Linked DNA regions of Homo sapiens: region 1 is linked to region 2. Evidence: promoter capture Hi-C in human tissues and cell types (Jung and others, 2019). All regions are on one chromosome and are shown on one strand. The core of a region is centred on a gene start or on the middle of the fragment in contact, and the rest is flanking DNA. Distances in the headings are between cores, read along the strand shown. Region 1 overlaps SPATA13 (spermatogenesis associated 13). Region 2 holds the start of RNF17 (ring finger protein 17).

The links. Contacts are between HindIII fragments. The study calls those that stand out against the background at their distance.
Region 1: a contact is called between a fragment that was not itself captured here and the fragment with the promoter of RNF17 in region 2, in 1 of the 25 tissues and cell types used here (dorsolateral prefrontal cortex).

The regions. Positions count from the first base shown.
Region 1 is chr13:24,296,242-24,300,066 of GRCh38, reverse strand. It overlaps SPATA13 (spermatogenesis associated 13), which reads right to left. Exons shown (of 13, transcript NM_001166271.3): 11 at 2,332-2,704. Among named protein-coding and RNA genes, the nearest start is that of C1QTNF9, 11 kb to the left of the region's middle. The HindIII fragment of the contact is 4,817 bases long and covers 1-3,664 here.
Region 2 is chr13:24,762,916-24,766,561 of GRCh38, reverse strand. It overlaps RNF17 (ring finger protein 17), which reads right to left and starts at 2,393. Exons shown (of 36, transcript NM_031277.3): 1 at 2,229-2,393. The coding sequence starts at 2,358. The HindIII fragment of the contact is 17,753 bases long and covers 1-3,646 here.

The DNA.
Region 1 (3,825 bases), core at 7-2,506, 470 kb after region 2:
CCCAGAAGGAGAGGACAGAGCAAAGGGTCCCAGGGCGTGTTCACCCATACGCTATGAGAGCTTTGCACGTTAGCAGTTCCACCCTGAACAAAGGTACCACGTGAGTAGCAGGTAGCGGATTCTGTACCCCAGCTGTGTGTAGTGTGTGCCCTGAGCATTCCCTCACTGTAAAGTCCAGTAGCACAGTGACAGTGTACGTGTGCAGTGTGTGAACTGGGTGAAACAAGAGTCACTGGAAAGACAAGATGAGGCAACCCTTGGCTTCGCAGGGTGTGGGGAAGGAGAAGGAAGGACAGAGCTGAATGGCCAGGGCTGGGTGCTGGGGCCCTGCCTTCTCCCGCGGGAAGCCTTCCTCCTGTAGGCAGGTACTCGCTCCAGCTTGGCAGAGCTGACCCAGGCCCTGTGTCTGCTAGCTTGCACTGCCTGGCTCGCTCCCGAGGCTCCCTCTCTACCTCTGCCCACTCTGCTCCCCTGGCCCTGATTCCTTCACATGCCCAACATCTGTCCCAGACTGTCCTGACGTCAGGCTCAGGCTCTGTACGCTGGCCACCGGGCTGTCCCTGCCTCCAAGGCCCTCCGTGTCCATTCTCTCTGATCTGCTACCTGAAGCTTCTACCCACACACATGCATCAAGTACGAGGGCTGCCAAAATATTCGAGGCAAGGAATGCATCCAGTTTTATCCCACACGTGCCAGTTCACAGACTTACTGGCTCAGGAGTGCCTCAGTCATGCACTTGCATCTCTGAGCACTGGCCACAGGGAGCATTACATGGCAAAGGGCACCACATCGGGCCCCTCCTTTCCTTCCTATTGAGAGACACTGTTGAAAGCACATAGGATGCCCCCACTAAATAGTGCCGTCTTTGGGAATCCAAACACTCTGACTTACAGATGACTTCAGGGCCTGCGCTAGACAACGTCATATGACGACTAAAACTAAGATTTTGTGGCTCTGTCATTTTGCATTTTAGTAACTGTCATCTTCAAATGAATTCTGGGCACGAGTGATTAGCCCTATTCCAATGGGGCCCCAGAGTCTGCACCAATAATCTATGGCTGTTGCTGGGAATCAGATTTCCTCTTAGTGTAAAGGACACCCTGACACTTGGTGTAAGGGGCTGCCTGTGATGTGGGGAGCTCTGTATCTTGGAGTGGCCCAAGTCCAGGCCAATGTCTACCCATTGAGTGTTTCCAAGTCGATCCCTGCTTCCGTTTTAGCCTGACCAACTTGTAAATCCCTCCAACTCTACTGCAGAATCTCACAAAACCTCCTGTGGGTGAGACCAAATTCTGTAGCCAAGCTTAGAGCCAGTGGCTGGGGAGGACAGAAAAAGCACCTCCTGGTTTTTAGTCCTGCTGTCCTCATGGCAGTGGGCAAGGATGGGGAGGGGCGTATGCTGGCTCCCCTCCGTCCTGGACCATGACTTTTGAGGGCTGGGCTCACTTGGGCTGCAGAGATGAATATCCTTCACTGTGGCTCCCTGACTTCCATTCAACAGATTGTGCTCAAAACCCTAAAGAGCTTGGGAGGCAATGAAATAGAGGCTCAGAGACTGTGGGTGCTGCCATCATTAATGCCAGGCATGGCAGCTTCAGTCTCAGGGGCCACACTGCACCTCCAGGTCAGCAGAAGCTGGGAAGACAAACCAAAGAAGTACAAATGTAACACTGGGTGTGAAGTACCATCGCCTTAACTGCAATGGACGATGCGGCATCCTGAGTTTCATAGGGAGAGATGGGAAGCATGAGGGCAGGCTGCTGGGTGTGGATCAACTGTGGCAGTGAAGAACACTGAAGGTATTGCACAGGCACAGCCAAAGGGGAGGCCTCCAGAATCACGTGATACTTCTGATAGCCTGGGTGATGGTCACCATAGTGGGGTTCCATCTCTGGGGTCACACTGAACTGGTTTTATTATTTATTCTTCATACCCTGCATGTGGCATCCAAAGTGCTGGATTTAAATGTTATGTGGCCACAGTGCAAGAGTGGGCCAGTTCCATAAGCCTCAATTTTCTCATCTGTAAATTGGGTATAATAACAGCAACCACTTCATAGGGATTCAATGAGACAATCTCTATAAATGGGCCACAGAATGTCTGGCACAAGGTAAATACTGAATAAATGTTGCCGGTAGTAACTACATCTGACATGGTCTGTCTTGTAAGTGCATTCAGAAGTATTTAGGGTTTGCAGATCCCTTGTCCTTTCCCCATGGTGGGATTCAGCTCTGAGGGAGAAGGCTGGGCAGAGCAGGCCCATGGGAGTGGAGAATGAAGCTATTACAGCAAGCAGAGGCACAGGTGCCTGCAGAGCCAAGGGCTGCTCACCCATCTCCTTGTCCTCTTGCACCCGCCTCCTTTCATCTGCACAGGCCTGCAGCCACCTCGCCTTGTCTTCTTGTTTTTTGGCACAAAACAAATAAACCTCGTCTGTGGTCCTACTGACGAGCTTGAAGGCATTTTTCACGCTGAGGTTGCAGTCCTTGTCGCGCCCATCCCCCAGGTCCACAAGCTCCATCTCATCCATGTCCAGCCGGCCCTTGTAGTACAGCATGTCCCTGCGCAGCAGGTCCTTCTTGCAGGACACCAGCTGGTGGTCAAACAGGAAGAACGTCCGCTGCTGGCTTTTGCCTTGCTTAGTGATTTTGGTCAGCTCCCCAGAATGAATCAATTCTGAGCTTCGGTCTAAGATATCCAGTCCCTGGAAGGATGAAAACACATCTTAAGACCTTCCAATTCTACCACAGCTGTAGTCCTAGCTACTTAAGAAGCCAAGGTGGGAGGATCGTTGAGGCCAAGAGTTTGAGACCAGCCTGGGCAACACAGCAAGACCCCATCTCCACATAAAATTTTAAAAATTAGCCAGGCATGGTGGCACACACCTGTAGTCCTAGCTACTTAGGAGGCTGAAGCGGGAGGATCCCCTGAGCCCAGGAGTTTGAGGCTGTAGTGAATGGTGATCACGCCAGTACACTCCAGCCTGAGGGGCAGAGCAAGACCCTTCTCTCTAAACAACAACAACAACAAACAAACAAACAACAACAACAACAAAAACAAACTCCCAATTTGGATTCCTTCAGGTGTTAGGATATGGAAGAGACTCCTAACACAGAATCTTTCTCAGACTTTCTAGGTACCTGAGGCTGCCTACCACCTGTCCCCATTCACAGGTGGGCAGGGCCTCAAAGGTTATTTGTAATAAACCTGGATTTATTGGTCTCCTGGTGCCTGAAATTTCTTCCTTTTCTTTTTTTTTTCCTGCTTACTAGAAAAATGTGACAGTGCCTCTGTGTTAGCTGAGGGGTCTTCCTAGCCTGAAGCCTCTGGTAAGAGGCATGCTGAATTAATGGAACCCAGTCAAGATCTGAAACAGCAGCTGACCCAAACGGAGCCTCCAAGAGTGAGAGCACGCAGGCTTACATGGGAGAAAGCATTCATGCAGGGGACACAGTATCGTGATTATGGACCTGACATTATTTGCGTTGAGTATATGGCAGCTCCCTGGAATTGCAACTTGTTCAGGGTCATAGAAACAAAAGGCCAGACGATAAATTGTCAGCAAGAAATTAACTTCTGACAAATTATCCCCTAAATGTCAGCGTCCAAAATCAAAAAGAAAAACACACTTTTATTATATTTAGGTTGAATCTAATCCAATGTTACTTTATGGTATTTGGTATGACAATGGCCTTTGTTAAATAAGATTTGATTCTCCCTTAATCCCAGTCACACACAATATTTTTTGGAGGCAAAAGAGCCTGACTCCAAAATAGTTCTTCTATTTACTTGCTCAGAGCAATTCCGTGCCCTAGATTCTTCACT
Region 2 (3,646 bases), core at 1,144-3,643:
CGTGCTGTTAGAATTATTTAAGACACTGGCAAGGCCAGAAGCCAGATGCTACTATTATCACATATCTACAACTCACATTTTCACAAACTTAGCATTTATGAAAGGAAATATCGTAACTTGATTGAAAACCTAACATCATGATTAAATGCTCTAAGAATTTGAAGTTTATAATAAATAACATTTGTTTTAGCTATATAATTTCAAAAGGTTGTCATTTTTAAAGTTTTGCAAGAAAACTGAAAAGGGAAAAAAACTAGATAAAAATCAGTCATCTTTTACTAGCAAAATAATTATAGAGTTCTTGCTGAATTATAATCGCATTAATTTTATTTATTTATTTATTCATCCATTCATTCACTCATTCTGAGACGGACCACGATCTCGGTTCACTGCCAACTCTGCCTCCTGAGTTCATGCTATTCTCCTGCCTCGGCCTCCGGAGTAGCTGAGATTACAGGTGTGCGTCAGCACGCCTAGCTAATTTTTTTGTATTTTTAGTAGAGATGGGATTTCACCATGTTGCCTAGGCTGGTCTTGATCTCCCGACCTCAAGTGATCCGCCCACCTCGGCCTCCCAAAGTGCTGGGACTATAGGCGTGAGCCACTGTGCCCGGCCTTGCATTAATTGTATTTTTTAAAAACTTTACAAGTTTCCTATCCAACTGAAATACCTGAAACTTGCTTACAACCATGCTAAATTTTAAAACCCTATTTAACTTCCAGGGATAATATTGCCAAAGAAATAAAAACACTTAACTATTATAAAATTTCTGATACTGAATAACTCAAAATAACTTGTGGTGAATTACAGCTTAAAAAGCACTTTCAGGATTCTATATACATAACCACTACTTCTCCAGTTTAGTTTTTCTAAGCATTATAATACTAATGTATGGAAGAAGTACTCATTTTAAAAGGTTGTGTTCTAGAACTTTATTCCGTAATTTTAATTTCATTCAAAAATGGAAATTTTCTACGTAACGGTAGCAGTGATCTAAACCCCAAGTAGGAGAAACTTGGTTCTCCACTGAAATCACAACTTTTTCTGCAGAGGCTCACATCTCACAGAGTCCATCTTGCCAAGACTGAGAAAACTGATCGAATGACCTTAACTTTGAAAGTATAAACATTAAACAGTTACGCCAGGTAATACGAATTTTCAGTAGCTCCAGGAATTGAGATTCAACAACTCAGCTGTATTAAGAGCACACTAAGGTATTTTAAGTTACATTAAAATAACTTGAACCGGCCGGGCGCGGTGGCTCACGCCTGTAATCCCAGCACTTTGGGAGGCCAAGACGGGCGGATCACGAGGTCAGGAGATCGAGACCATCCTGGCTAACACGGTGAAACCCTGTCTCTACTAAATATACAAAAAATTAGCCGGGCGTGGTGGCGGGCGCCTGTAGTCCCAGCTACTCCAGAGGCTGAGACAGGAGAATGGCGTGAACCTGGGAGGCGGAGCTTGCAGTGAGCCGAGATCGCGCCACTGCACTCCAGCCTGGGCTACAGAGCGAGACTCCAACTCAAAGAAAAAAATAATAATAAATAACTTGAACCTGTGATCACTTGAGTAGATTGTAGGTGAACAGACCAATAATAGTGCAGTGTATTTTTCCCCTCACGTATAAAGACCAACACACACACACACACACACACACACACACACACACCCCACAAGGTGCACAAAAGAAACTATCATTTTCCAAACAGTGTTTTAGGCCAGTGTGAGCCATAATGTAAAAAACAAACAAAAAAACCCCCACAGAAACAACAAAATGCTAACAACAACAACAAAATCCAAAACCATTTCACAATGGTCTACTTGTTACTCCTACAACAAAAACTACAGGAGAAAATCAAGTTTCGTTCCTTCTTGATGACAAAACAATGGGCTACATTTTATGTCTACTTTTGCATGCACCCGCTAACCTGCCTTGTGAGGAGTAGATTAAAGCCACCCGGGCCCCCATCCTCCCGGCTGGAGGGTCGGTGAGGCCTGGATGGGTAATTGGAGAAAGCCGTGACAGGCGCAGGTGCTGCCCTTAACCAACCCAAGCACTGCCCTCTTAGAGGTCGGGTGCAGCTCGCGGGAGGCCTGTGACGCAGTTTCTGGTGACACCAGGATTGGATGCAGCTGACCAAGCCTCACGCGCCCACCAGCTCACCTGGCCCCCAGCGCTCCCTCCAGGCTGCCTCCCCGCTAGGTGGGCCCTTGGGCTCCTCACCGGATGATCTGGATACCCTCCTTCCACACCTGGTGCACTGGATTTCAGCGGCACCCCAGGGCTGACTCTTCCTCCCCATTCGCTGGTAGGAAGACCTAGAAGGCCCAGTCTTCGAAGCCTCTGCCGCCATCGCTGTCTCTTTCTTCTGGAACAACCGCCGAGTGCGAGTCCCGGCGGCCCTCGCGGCAGCGACCAATCATTGGAGGCCAGCCCCTGCAGATAGCCAAACAGTGGGCCGGGAGATTAAAGCCCGCCCCCAAGCTCGCTCCTGATGGGGCTGGGGCTGTTTTCCGTTATCCTGGGAGGTACCACTCCTAGAAGGGGCGCCTTGTGGCCGTTGAGGACCGTTCGTTTTTACGTTCTACCCAAAGAGTCACCACTTTAGTGCTTTTAGTCATCACAAATTAAAATTTCGCATATTATTACTTACATTGTGAGTGACTTTATAGATAATCATTTGGATTGAAACAATCCCCTTTCCCTATTACGTGTCAGGGCCAGAAGCCCTAAACCTGTGTGCTTCGGGCATCCAGGGCTTGGCCAATAGCAGCTGGAGTGGAGAAGCTAATGAGAAGCTATCGTTGGGGTAGATTCAGTGAACGCTTTCGAATTAAGGAGTGTTCATCATTACTAACTGCTGTTGAGCCTAATAATATACAAGGCAGCGTGCCAAGAGTGGTTGGGGATGCTAAGAATTTATGAACTAGCAGGTTTCTGCTTGAGAGATACATAACTCCTTAAAAAAACCCAGTAACTTCCGCCAAAATAAGTGTTATGTACCGGACCTGTGTTAGAGACAGTAAGAATTAGCCTTCTGGGCCCGGCGCGGTGGCTCACGCCTGTAATGCCAGCACTTTGGGAGGCCAGGGCGGGCAGATCACGAGGTCAGGAGATCGAGACCATCCTGGCTAACATGGTGAAACCCTGTCTCTACTAAAAATACAAAAAAAAAAAAAAAAAAAAATTAGCCGGACGTGGCGGTGGGCGCCTGTAGTTCCAGCTACTTGGGAGGCTGAGGCAGGAGAATGGCGTGAACCTGGGAGGCGGAGCTTGCAGTGAGCCGAGATCATACCACTGCACTCCAGTCTGGGCGACAGAGCGAGACTGCGTCTCAAAAAAAAAAAAAAAAGAGTTGAAGCAACTTGTCCAAGCATAGTTCACAAAAAGCAATGAAGAAATGAAGTCAATATGGTCTACGGTGGTATGAAAACTCTTCGTAGAGGATATAGGGTTTGCACTAGACCTTACAACCTAGGTAGTACTTACAGGAGTAAACAAGAACTAAGGGATTCCAAGAATAAAGAACACATCAGCGAGGGAAGGTAGATGTGAGGGAAGGTAGATGGAAGACACAGTGACTTCTTGAGAATTTAAAGACCATTTAGCCAGAGTATGAGTTTCCTTAAAGTAAGCTTCTT